Linked DNA regions of Homo sapiens: regions 1 and 2 are each linked to region 3. The links are contacts of gene promoters, found by promoter capture Hi-C in blood cells and fetal thymus (Javierre and others, 2016). All regions are on one chromosome and are shown on one strand. The core of a region is centred on a gene start or on the middle of the fragment in contact, and the rest is flanking DNA. Distances in the headings are between cores, read along the strand shown. Region 1 overlaps ARHGEF28 (Rho guanine nucleotide exchange factor 28). Region 2 overlaps ARHGEF28 (Rho guanine nucleotide exchange factor 28). Region 3 holds the start of FAM169A (family with sequence similarity 169 member A).

Region 1 (4,181 bases), core at 1,455-3,954, 960 kb before region 3:
ATTTATCCCTAGGAGAGAAATGATTTCTCATATGGGGTCAAAACATACACACATACTCAGTATGTGTCCATTTTCAATTTGTCCCTTCTGTACTGCTTTGCACTCTAAATGGGAACTTTTAAAATTAAAAGCTTCCAAGGGCATTCACAGAGATCTCTTTGGTTTTGTGGAATCCTTCCAAATCTTGGTAATTATTTCCTGTGATGTTGCCAAACTTTTCATAGGCAGATACCGTAACTCAAAATGTTTTTTTAATCTGGTTGGTAATGTCCTCTGGGCTTTAGAGTATCTATTTTCCCTTAATCATTTCAGCCTCCTGTTAGCGATCTATTAAACAAATAAATTTCAGCTTAGTTTTTTGTGCATGACCTTCCTGCTATAATACAAAGATATAACAGTAATGAGACTAGCTTTAGCCACTTACATATCTCCTAAAAATGGTATTAACTGCTATTCTTAGGCATTATGTTATAAAAACATTATTTACCTAAAGTCTCCAAATAGTTGTTTTTTATTTTTATGTCTTCATAATGCAATGTAGCTCAAGTAATTTCTGGTTTGGGACTCAAAGGAAGGATACTACTAGGTTTATGTGGATTCTTAAGTTCTCATGAATGATTGACTAGGGAGAGACCTCAGCAAGAGAGTGAGATGTAGGACAGGAATGCACAGCCTTGTGAATTTATGTGCCGAGTTCGTATTCAGAAGACTCGCTTAACTATCACCCAACCACCAGCAGCAAACTACCTTCCCACAGGAGAGGATGATATTGCTTTTGGGCTTTGTTTCTTTTCTCTATAAATTCACAGGTCCTACCCCTAGGACAGATGTAGACACACCTCTCTGGAACGCCAAAAACCTTGCCTTTGGAGGTAACTTAGAAAAAGGCCAGAAATATTAAGAGAAGTGAATTCGGGCCTGCGTTTTGTGTTTCGAGGTAGTTCCAACCGAAAGGGTAAACAATAACCATGGAACCTTGTGTTCAGTGATTTTTCCTCTGTCTGCTCTGACAGGCCGCCTTGACCATTCAGGACAGCCACATTGAGATCCACAGGCTGGTTCTCCAGCAGCAGGAGGGCCTGTCTCTCGGCCACTCTATCCTCCGAGGCGGCCCCTTGCAGGACCAGAAGTCTCGCGACGCGGACAGGCAGCATGAGGAGCTGGCCAATGTGCACCAGCTTCAGCACCAGCTCCAGCAGGAGCAGCGGCGCTGGCTGCGCAGGTGTGAGCAGCAGCAGCGGGCGCAGGCGACCAGGGAGAGCTGGCTGCAGGAGCGGGAGCGGGAGTGCCAGTCGCAGGAGGAGCTGCTGCTGCGGAGCCGGGGCGAGCTGGACCTCCAGCTCCAGGAGTACCAGCACAGCCTGGAGCGGCTGAGGGAGGGCCAGCGCCTGGTGGAGAGGGAGCAGGCGAGGATGCGGGCCCAGCAGAGCCTGCTGGGCCACTGGAAGCACGGCCGGCAGAGGAGCCTGCCCGCGGTGCTCCTTCCGGGTGGCCCCGAGGTATGGACCTTCTGCGGTGCTGTGAGGCAGCCTCTCAAAGACAGGGGTGGGCCTGGGGGCTCCTAGGACACTAACCAAACATCTGTCATTTTGGATTTGTGTAAGAAGACCTCATGAGGATTTTTCAATTTGTAGGTAGCCAAAGCTGGAAGCTTTCAGAGATAACGCATATCCATTTTGACTTAAAATATGGACAGTGCGGGCCAGGCGCGGTGGCTCATGCCTGTAATCCCAGAACTTTGGGAGGCCGAGGCGGGAAGATCACCTGAGGTTGGGAGTTCGAGACCAGCCTGGCCAACATGGTGAAACCCCGTGTCTACTAAAAATACAAAAATTAGCTGGGCTTGGTGGCGGGCCTCTGTAATCCCAGCTACTCAGGAGGCTGAGGCAGGAGAATCACTTGAACCCATGAGGCGGAGGTTGCAGTGAGCCGAGATCACGCCATTGCACTCCAGCCTGGGTGACAAAAGTAAAACACCATCTCAAAAAAAAAAAAAAAAAAAAAAAAAGGACAATGTGAGGGCCCAAGTCCTATGGGATCACTGCACTCTGCCTGAGATGCCCTTACCCTAAGGAACAAACACAGAATCAAGTTGTCCTAGAAAGGCCAGGGTGGGTTTGTCCTGGAGGCACACTCACTGCGAGCGTGCTCTTTTTCCAGTATTTGAAGGACTCTCTTTATATGATCTGTCTTAAGAGTTCTATTAGATGTAGCTTTTAGAAGATCAATTAACTATGAATATATACTATAGGCACTGAATTTAGCAAGTATAGTACTATTCTGTTATGCTGAGCTTCTTCTCTCTTTGTAAATTTGATATAGTAAATTCAAAATCCATTTCACTAATAAGAGTTATTTATTTGTGTCTTTTCTAATCATGCTTGAGAATCCTATTCGTCCCAGAAATTTATTTTCCTGTGTTATGTGCATGTATGTTTTTTTACTGATAGTGCCTAAAGTTGTAGAAGTTGATAAGCTTACAAGATCTCTGTTGCAATCTGTTTTTCCTTTTAAGTTGGCTAAATTATGTTTATTGCAAACTCCTCATGTATATATGGATATGTTTTCAACTTTTTTATTTAGCAAAAGTAAAAACTGCTGCTTTCTCTGATTAAAATAAAGTGGAAACACTTTAATGTCATAGAGTGCCACTTTTTTTGTTGTTGTTGTTAAAGATATGCCATGCATAGCAAATTGAAGTTTTTGGTACTAGCTCATTAAAAGAGTATGGGAGAGGGGAGGGAGAAAAGAAGTGGTAATCTTGACCTCACTTTTACTGAAATCTTGATTCCTAAGATTCTCTCAGGAATAAATACTTTATGAAACTTGTATAAGTTAGAAAAATTATTGTACTTTTCCTCTGTTTCTTTACACAGGTAATGGAACTTAATCGATCTGAGAGTTTATGTCATGAAAACTCATTCTTCATCAATGAAGCTTTAGTACAAATGTCATTTAACACTTTCAACAAACTGAATCCATCAGTTATCCATCAGGATGCCACTTACCCTACAACTCAATCTCATTCTGACTTGGTGAGGACTAGTGAACATCAAGTAGACCTCAAGGTGGACCCTTCTCAGCCTTCGAATGTCAGTCACAAACTGTGGACAGCCGCTGGTTCCGGCCATCAGATACTTCCTTTCCATGAAAGCAGCAAGGATTCTTGTAAAAATGGTAATTAACACTTTAAACATCATCTGTATAGTTTGAACAAGAAGTTGTCCCTCTGAATGGTTGGCTCTTGTGTAGAGTGAATCAAAGTCCTCCCTAGCATGGGAATAAATCGGTACTGATGAGCTGGAGTTTGTGGCATTCACTTTTCTTTGGGGAAGTCTGGGGACAGCCTTTGCTTGTAAGTTACCTAGACAAGTGAGACCATGGTCATAGGGCTTAGAGAATGCTCACAACATGTGAGAACCAGACAGGATTTTTAGATGTGTGGGTTAAAATAATAATGTCCTCTTAAAAGTAAAGCAACTTGATATTTACTCCCCACTATTGTGGACCCCACTACATCCTGAAACACCTATGTTGACACTCAGAAATAATAACAGATACCAACAGGGTTGGTAGTGGGACTTTATCAGGGCAATTTCCTGTAACGTTAGTGAAATCTTCTGTACTGCTATTAAACACCCAAAATGAAACTGTTAACATCATTTGTCATTGTAAAAAAAAAAAAAAGTGTTGTCTCTCCATAAGTACCTCATAATAACACAATTTGCTAATCCCATTAAAGCATTTGCCAAGTATAAATGAAAGGCAGCTCGTGTTACCAGCTCCACATGAATCCGAATGATTTAAATCTATGTCTATTATAAATTGTTTTCTGGGGGATATGAGGTAGGGAATGAGAAGAACTTGAAACCTCTCTACCGAAAAACAGATGGCATGCAATAGAATAAACAAATGGCTGGCCACATGGATGTGAAATAAATCACCCACAGCAAAATGTTTCAGAAACATAAAACAAGCAGTAGTATAGAAGTCTTCAGAACTGGATACAGATTTGTTTCTATGCTTAATATATATTCTTAGTTTGTCAGTTGGAGGATAATTTTTCAGCAACAAAAAGGTTTGAAGGTATTTGGCTTCTCCCAATTCAAGAGTAATAATTCTGATACTGCTTATAAGTTGATTTATTACTGATCCAAAAGATGTTGATTCTTAATAGTGGC
Region 2 (4,654 bases), core at 2,127-4,626, 970 kb before region 3:
TCTTCAACTCCTAATGCCTGTAGGCATTGGGCAGAAATGTGATTGAGTGAATGTGATAGGGTCAGAAGCAATGAGACAATAGAAAGTTGTAGGGACTGTAGTGAAAAGTGAGTCTGTGCCCTGTCTCAAAGATGTCAGGGATTACTTGGCTATAGCCAGTGTTTTAAAATGAGAATATGGGCCCAGGATTGCTCATCTTCTGCTTTCCCCAAGAACCCAGAAATGTAAAGTTTTTAAAAAGTGAAATCCTCTAGTATTTAAATGCTGAGAACTGATTTTTAAACTTTGTTTGTTAAATGCCGTGGCACAAATAAAACATCTCTGCAAGCTGGGTTAGCCCTTTGCATTACTAGTGTTTGACATCTACCTCCAAGGCAGACATGGTACTTCCATTCCTGGAGAGTTAATTTGAATGTTTGTTCATCTCCAGTGTTTGTGCGTGGTTAGTATGAATACCGATGGACAGGTTCCCATGCCCCCTGGTCTGATGGTGATCGAATGAATGCTACTTTCCTTGCACTTACCTGTTCTTCACTTTGAAAAGATCTTACCCTGCCACCTCCCCTCCCCTGCAACACTAACCAACTGGTTCAAATAATTGCACTCTTGCTCATGTCTTAAGCAAGTAAACCTACTCTGCCTTTTTACATACAGAGGCTGTTTACCTTGTCAGCTGAGGAAGCTATAAAGTACATTGCACATTGCATCAGGGAAACAGATAAGGGAGTAGGTCCATAATAGAATAAGCCAGATTAACAATGCTCCAAGGATCTCCCTAATTAGAGAGGGCAGTATTCCAACAACTCTGCCATGGGGCTGCTTTTGCTTCCATTTTCAGAGGCTGAGCACAGGCTGTATAGACTAGTGGTCTTGTCCCATTATATTTTTACTCTCATGCTACTCTGAGAAGCGTGGGGTGAGGAGGTACTCTGGGTCACCATGGCACACAGCCTCTGATATGGCCAAGCTGTATGATGCTGGGAAAGCCGACAAGCCAGCACCAAGGAGTCAGCAGTGAGGGAACAGTGGCATGTTCTGGATAAAGGCGTCGCTCAGTCCATGATGGTGAAGCAAAACCACACACTGCAACCAGCTCTGTAAACACTGGTGGAAGCCACAGACCAAAGAAGAATTCTTCATATTATCCCCCAAACTGTTCATCTTGAAGTCATTCTTTTGGCCATTCTTTCAACTACATCTACCTACCAAGCATCATCAGTGTGCTGTTCCTCTTTGAATCCCCAGTGTTTAGAAAAAGACATTGGAGGATCACAGTAGATGTTGGTAGAAGAGGTGGTTTAATCATGGCGTACATGCCAAATTTTAGACTTTCTTCCTATTACCCTGTGGTGGACTTATGTGAAACTAGTCCTACCAACATTTATTGAGTGCCTACTCTATGCTTGGCTATGTGCTAGGTGCATGAAGATGAATGAGACCCATTCCCACCCACCAAGGGCTCATCTGCTTGGTGAGAAGAGGCAAGAACTTGTAGACCATTTTGTTGCTGTGACCCACATGACAGTAGCAAAAAGGATTGGTTACGCCTGGGGAATCAAAGGTCTTGCCACTTATTCGTATCTTTTGTAGTCACTTTTATAGTCCATGGGCTGGGCTTCTGAGTTTCTGGGCTTCTGTTCCGTCACCTTATTGAAAGAGTATTGCAAGTCTAATGGACTTTTTAGGGCCTCCCTCCTTCTCAGTCTCTTTGACATTTGACATAGTTTCCTATCTCATGCTCTCTTAGAAAAACTTCTCCTGCCTTGACTATGGCATTTTGATATTTTTCTTCTCTGATTGTTCTGTCTTTTAAAAAGTTCAGTTTTTAAACAACCAATTCCTTTTTTTTTTCTTTTTTTGAGATGGAGTCTTGCTCTGTTGCCCAGGCTGGAGTGCGCTCACTGCAACCTCTGCCTCCCAGGTTCAAGCAATTCTCATGCCTCAGCCTCCCAAGCAGCTGAGACTACAGGCGCACACCAGCACATCTGGCTAATTTTTGTGTTTTTAGTATAGATGGGGTTTCACCACATTGGCCAGGCTGGTCTTGAACTGCTGACCTCAAGTGATTCACCTGCCTCGGCCTCCCAAAGTGCTGGGATTACAGGAGGGAGCCGTTGGGCCCGGCCTAAACCACCAATTCTTAAGGATGAGCATGCCTATAATTCCTCTTTTTCCATCCTCTCTTTTCCATACCGTCTCCATTGGAGATTGTATCAACTTCTACAGCTCTTTTGAAAAGATTGGAAGTGGAGAAAGGTTTACCTAGTACTCTTGCTTCCTTTAGCTCATGTTTTACGGAGCCTTACTTTAGCTAGGATGCTGTTTCATCTGCTCACCTTCCTATTTTATGTAGGATCAGAAGCCATCAGTTATTTCCCTTCAAAAGCTTATTGCTAGAGAAGTTGCTAATGAGGAGAGAGGAATGTTTCTGATCAGTGCTTCATCTGCTGGTCCTGAGATGTATGAAATTCACACCAATTCCAAGGAGGAACGCAATAACTGGATGAGACGGATCCAGCAGGCTGTAGAAAGGTAACATTTCCTTCCGTCCATAATCTATGGAACAGAGTTGTTCAACTGGGGAAAATATTCTAACCATGTCTTCCTGCATGAAAACTTTGCCTCTGCCAGAATGGTCTGCCCCCTGCCCCCTGCACCTGCCTGCGATAGCCCCCCATCTGCAGCTTTCTCCTCCACGCCTCCCTGCATGTAATGCCTGCACCTCCCTCTGCCTGTGTGCACCCTGCCGGGCGTTGATGCAGCTCGGGCCTCCCCTCCTCCATGAGGACCCCTTCAGTCCTGGTGATCTCTTTCTTGCCTGAAATTCTTTAACACCTGCTCACTAAAGCATTTACTTGATGCTTCTTATATACTGCCTTGTAGCTATTATCTTTTTTATGTACATATGTGTGTGTTTATTTAATTAGATTGGAAGCTCCTCGAGGGCAGGGTTCATGTCTTATGTTTCTCTGTGTGCCTAGTGCTGAGAAATCATTCAATAAATGTTTCTGAATTGGTGGATCTAAGTATTCTAAGTCAATTTATTCCTCATTACTTGTGCAAGGACAGTTTTTATAATTGGGAGCACAAGGGTGGGGGTGATCATTCTCAACAGTAGTTTGATTAGTTAGATCCTGAAGTTATATAAAATTTCTCTACCTCTACTGCACCCCATCTGCCCTGGCACCCCACTTCTATCCTTTACAATTCTTATACTTTATTCCCATTATGGGTGTGTGTGGTGAGTGTATGTTTGTGTTCACTGGAATATTTGAGTCATCCCACACCACCGATTTTGAGAGCCATGTAATGTTATGCAAGATTCTTTGTATTCTCAAGAAAACCAAGTCTCTGGCCAGGGGGGATGATGCATTCCCTTTATGCTGAAATTTTCTCCTTTATGAATAAATCTATTGCCAAGTTCCCATGTTTTTCTAATGAATCTACAGATACTTGCATTTGGTTTCAGTTGTGTCTCTTGACTATTGTCTTTTAAAGTTGTCCTGAAGAAAAAGGGGGAAGGACAAGTGAATCTGATGAAGACAAGAGGAAAGCTGAAGCCAGAGTGGCCAAAATTCAGCAATGTCAAGGTACAGTGCAGGCACTTCTGGCTCCCTGGTCGTGGTGTTCTCCTGGGTGTTGGGAAAGCCTGAGTGTCATGAACAGGAGGTTATAACTACATGATTCATCCTGTGCACCTGAGGCCCACCTGGACCACCCTCCCGAGAAACTTACACTAGAAATGCTCAAATAAGATGACATTCTCTTCACTTCCACCTTAGTGATTAAAATGGATGTAAAAAATGCACATAACATATATGAAACAACAGCTGTGGGCAGTGTGGTGCAGATGAATGTTGGAATTATTTGTCTCATGGTTTAATTTTAGGTCTCAGCACTGTCATGTCAATGACTTTGGACAAGGAACCCAACAGATCTTGTCCCCAGTTTGCAAGTGTGTGAAAGAAGGAGATTAGACTAGCTCAGTGATTCTCTACTCTGGTTGGACACTGGAATCAGTTGAGAGGTCTTTAAAAATACGGATGCCTGGGCCTCACCCTCCACCGATTGAATCCGAATCTGTGGCAGGTGGGATGTAGACTTTGGGGTTTTCAGCTCTCCCAAGGTGACTTTGAAGCACAGAGGGGACTGAGAATTCCTGGATTCAATGCTAGTTAAGGTCCCTTTGAGCTTTAAGAATTCTGTAACATGTTGAAATCTGAGGACAATGATGCATGCAAAGATGGGCAAAGAAATTGGATGTTTAGAAACAAAAACTTAAACCAGTATGTTTGGTTTAGCCTGTGCCGTTCCAGGCATTTGTATTGTTCACTCATCATGGACAGGGCCGCCTCAATTTTCATTCCTAAGCTTAATGTTTAGTCTTAATAGAAAACAGCCTGAACAAACAAAGAATAGCTTTGCAAATTTTCTGGAAGTAGGGGACTGAGAAAGGAACCTTATTTACAGAAAAGACAATGGAAGCTGAGAAAGTTGTTAAGTCACTTGCTGGAGGCCACAGTCACTAAGTGGCATGGTCAGGACTGAGACCTGCATCTGCCCCACTCATCAACCTGGGTTTTCTCTTGGAGGTCTTACTGCTTGCTAATTAGCAACATCTTTTTCGTGGACTTTCACATTAGTGGTTGTATTC
Region 3 (4,430 bases), core at 1,360-3,859:
ACAATCTTACCAATTCAGTGAACTTCTCTGACTTGTATAATAACAGAATCAATGTAAAAGTTTAAGAGTTGTGTTTGACTCAGCACTGTTATTTGCTAGAAAAAAAAAAATCTCATTCCCCATAGGCCTAGGATAGGTCCAGACAGGTCACCTGCAATCTCTAGCAGGCAATCTTTGCTTACTTAAATTCCCTAAACCAAGACTCATCTCTAAATGTCCAAGGTTCTTCTCGCCTCCATAATTCTCCCTATAGAATAAACATATCTATAATGGGAAGCACGATATTTTTGCCAGGGATGGTACACAATATGTAATCACTTGTTTGAAGACAAAATTAGTGGGAGAGTCTTCAACAAAACAGAAAATAAATAGTTTAATTTAATAAGGAGGATGGCATGGAAACTTTACCTCAAAAGCACTTAATTATTTTGTTTTCTCCAAATCAAAATCCTTTGTTGGATATATATTCCATCTTGGTGTTTCACTGTTGTTGCCCAGGCTGGAGTGCAAGGGCACGATCTCGGCTCACCGCAACCTCTGCCTCCTGGGTTCAAGTGATTCTTGTGCCTCAGCCTCCCGAGTAGCTGGGATTACAGGCATGTGCCACCACACCCGGCTAATTTTGTATTTTTAGTAGAGACGGGGTTTCACCATGTTGGCCAGGCTGGTCTTGAACTCCTGACCTCGTGATCCACCCGCTCTGGCCTCCCAAAGTGTTGGGAAAACAGGTGTGAGCCACCGCACCCGGCCTATATCCCATCTTTATTAAATAAATACCACTTGTAATGACATGAATACTATCTCAAAGGTCAGACTAATTTGAAGCCTTTTAGAACCTAAAATCCACAGGTAAAACACCTTAATTTATGGTCACTCATGTGGAAGGTCAATGTTGCTACTCACATAAGCTATTTCTAAGTTCCCCAAACAGATCCCCATCATTAACTTAGAGAAAAGTCCACTATAATAGCTACAAGATTTCTGTGAAAGACGATCATGTTTTATCTTTGTTTGCGCTTCAAGTGTTAGGATAAACGGACTTTTCCCAGGTGCCTCTCACCATCTCATTCCTTGCCTTTCCTCCAAAACAAGCAAAACTAAAACACTAAAAATTTTAGTCTGGTCCATACTAGTCAATAAAAATCTTTCCTCTTGTAAACACTTTATAGCACGATAAGGGACGTAGTTTGCAAAGATCATCTGTACATCCTGTGTAAAAAATAAAAACGCATGGCACACCAAACCCAGATCCACTTCGGTGAATTCCCTCCAGGGCCCAAATGTGTGCATTATGCAACAGCCAGCACTCCCGATTGTAATCCCTGTCTGTGATGCAATGACAAAATATAAATGGCTTGGGTATAATCTGCTCAGTTCGTAAGTAGTAATTCGCAAGAAGCCAACGAATTAAAAGAATTCCCAAATTCTCAGGAACCTTGAAAATGACAAATTGTGTCACAGTTCTGTGAGAATCACAATGAAAACTTTCCCTTCTGGAAATTTTTTAGAAATATGTCCCTCCGGTCCCAATCCCCCAAAAACCCGTACACACGTTTTAATTTACGTTAGGAACGGCTCTCCCAGCGGGGGAAGGTGACCTGCATCAGGTGGTTATCTTCGAATCCACCCGATACGATACCCACGCCGCTTCCCAGACGCTGAAAAGCCAGTGAGATGCTTCATCCTTTCTCCCCAAGGACAGTCATGGGAGTCAGTGTAATCCAGACCCCCGAGCCATAAACCACCCAGGGTTCAAGGCTTCACCTCCTGAGGCACAGGCCTCTTGAAAAATGGCATAATGGAGAGCTGAGAACACAATTAGGACAAAACTGCAACGACCAGCATTCCAGAGGAGGGAGAATCATACAATATCTGTTCCAAAAGTAGTTACAGGTAAAGGAAGGCGGTCAGAGCATCTCTGGAGGCCACCTGGTCGGGTGAACCGAGTCTAAACGCTGAAGTTCCACACCTCCCCGAGTCCGCGTCTCCCCAAGCCAAAGCAATCAGCTCGCACGCCAAGCATCCAGGTGGGGAGAGGGCGAGGGGAGGGGGCGGCAAGCCGCAGCTGCGAACCGGCCCGCGGCGGAGGCGAGCGAAGACGGGCATTCCCTCACACAAAATGGTGGCGCCGAGGCGGAGGCCGGCGCACCTGGGGGCGCCACACGCCCTACGGGATCCCCGCAGACCGCCGCCAGCTGGACGCGAGCCCCGGGTCCAGGCGGCCCGCACTGGTCTGCGCCAGGCCCAGCCCGCAGGGGCCGCCCACAGCCGGTGGCCCGCGTCGCCGCTCGGTGTCCGCGGGTCTGGTGCTGGCGGGGGCGCGGGGCCCGGCGCGGCCGTCTCGGCCTCACCCAGCGGTCCGCGCCGGGGAGAGGGAGCGCACTCACCTCAGACGCGCCCCGGGAGCCGCTGGAAGAGCCCGGGAAAGGAGGCGGAGCCGCGCGAATGAATGGAGCCGGCGGCTGCTCGCTGGCGACCTCCGGCCGGTCCCAGGCCGCACAGCTCGCGGCTGCCAGGGCGAGTGCGGCTGCCTCCCGCTCGCCCCGGACGCCCGGCTCCTCGTCGCGGGTCGGCCGCGGCCCACCGTGCCCTCCGACGACGTGACGCACTAGCGCCGCAGCGCCTCCAGCCTTCGCTTCCGCTCCGCGCCCGCGCCCACCGCGAATCCCCCCGCCCGCCAGCGCGGAGCGGCCCCTCCTCGGAGCCTGGGACGCCGCCCTGCCTCCCTCCAGCCCCGGCTTTCAGGCGCCGGCCCGGCAGGTGCGGGCTTGGCCAGCCCGGGGGCGTCACGCGGCCCCCGCCTCGCCACCCGCGCCCCCTCTCTCCGCCCCGGCCGCCGTCACCCGGCAGCGCGACGCCCAGCTCAGGGCAATGGCCTGGTATTAAAGAGTGACCTTGGCTTAGATATAAAAATAGATGCGGTTAAGCCGCGGGGGCTGCAACGCTGATTTTGCGTATTCCTTTAATGCCGACCTTCGCAGGATTCTGTTCGCATAGCCCGGTGGAGTTCTCCAGCCCCGCGTAGGCCCTCCTGAAATTTACCCAGAGTGGGCGCGGCCATCCCGGCCTCGGGACAGGGGTGCAGAGGGCACGGGCGAGGACCGCCGGCCTCCGCCCCACCACTTTCATCCTAAACCTACTGCCACTTAGGTGCATGCAAGTTAGAATCGTGGGCTGCTTTCACAGTCTACAGAAGTCCTAGAGCCCGGACTTTCATCTGGAGATGTCAGGGAAATACCACATTCCTGCGCTGACCTTTTCTCTTTCACCGTTTAACCGGTACAGAATAACCCTGACCCAGAAAGACAACAGGGTTCCATCCGGCTTTCCTCCCGTGCCTCTCCCAGCTCTATTCTACCGTCTTATGGCCTCTGGCGCCTTTGCTAATTACACACTCCTACTGAAAATTAGCCCTCCAGCATTTAAAACATGATAAATTGTCTTTAAGGTAATGCGTATTGTAGTCTAAATATATTTAATAACTGTATTGAGAAACAATATTGTATCTAAGTATTAATGTCAAGACTTTCTTTTACTCATCATCCAAGAACCGTAGTATTATGTTCAGCTCATCCAGAAAAGTTGAAAATTGCTTCTTTCATTCCTGGGAAATATTTAGCAATCACAATACCAACTTTCACGAATTTACTAATGATTAGCAAAATTAGCAAGATCAAAAAATACTTCAAAGAATGCTTGTTGATATAGATATATTTGACCCTGATTTTTAAAAAAAGCTTTTCTGCCATATAAGAATCTATTGTTTCATTTGTATAATATTTAATTAGCCAAAATCTTTACTATTACACATCATTTACCATTTTAATGAAACTTAATGAATTAGATTTAATAGAGCAGGAATTTTGGGTAGTTGGGTTCTACCCATAGCCAGTGATGAATGAAATTATATGACTTGTATTTACATTTCTAGAGCTATGTGTAAGTAGGAGTCCCCAGGGTAATCCCAAACAATTGCCATTTGGGGAAGCTTTGGCTACCAGACTATGCCCTACAGATGTTGAAGCCTCAGGCCTTAGTGTAAAGCTAACCAATACAACTTGTTGATAATATTTGAAATGCCTGGGTGTGATTGACTCTTAGCTATTGTTTTAGAAGTATGCGGGTATTTGTGCCTGGGTCAGGGAGGCCTGGCTCCCAGATGTCTGGCTATTCTGGTAGGAGACAGAACTACATTCACCCAGACCTATAAAAGAAAAGGTCCAATTTTTTTTTTTTTTTTTTTTTTTTTTTTTGAGACAGGGTTTCACTCCCACAGCCTAGGCAGGCTGGAATGCAATGGCGCGATCTCGACTCACTGCAACCTCTGCCTCCCAAGCTCAAGCGATTCTCCGGCGTCAGCCTCCGGAAGAGCTGGGACAGAGGTGCACACCAACGCACCTCGCTAATTTTTGTAGAGACGGAGTTTCGCC

What was found. Contacts are between HindIII fragments. The CHiCAGO score rates a contact against its expected background, and 5 or more counts as called.
Region 1: a fragment that was not itself captured here is called in contact with the fragment with the promoter of FAM169A in region 3 in 1 of 17 cell types (erythroblasts); the score reaches 5.1 in erythroblasts.
Region 2: a contact is called between a fragment that was not itself captured here and the fragment with the promoter of FAM169A in region 3, in 1 of 17 cell types (fetal thymus). The highest score is 7.6, in fetal thymus.

The regions. Positions count from the first base shown.
Region 1 is chr5:73,908,399-73,912,579 of GRCh38, forward strand. ARHGEF28 (Rho guanine nucleotide exchange factor 28) reads left to right here. Exons shown (of 36, transcript NM_001177693.2): 34 at 1,014-1,499; 35 at 2,877-3,177. Among named protein-coding and RNA genes, the nearest start is that of LINC02122, 190 kb to the right of the region's middle. The HindIII fragment of the contact is 461 bases long and covers 2,475-2,935 here.
Region 2 is chr5:73,889,699-73,894,352 of GRCh38, forward strand. It overlaps ARHGEF28 (Rho guanine nucleotide exchange factor 28), which reads left to right. Exons shown (of 36, transcript NM_001177693.2): 27 at 2,354-2,532; 28 at 3,499-3,590. Among named protein-coding and RNA genes, the nearest start is that of LINC02122, 210 kb to the right of the region's middle. The HindIII fragment of the contact is 1,985 bases long and covers 2,385-4,369 here.
Region 3 is chr5:74,863,778-74,868,207 of GRCh38, forward strand. It overlaps FAM169A (family with sequence similarity 169 member A), which reads right to left and starts at 2,610. Exons shown (of 13, transcript NM_001376049.1): 1 at 2,388-2,610. FAM169A-AS1 (FAM169A antisense RNA 1) reads left to right here and starts at 2,116. Exons shown (of 1, transcript NR_134288.1): 1 at 2,116-3,498. RefSeq lists silencers at 2,057-2,226, 2,297-2,546. The HindIII fragment of the contact is 5,081 bases long and covers 1-3,735 here.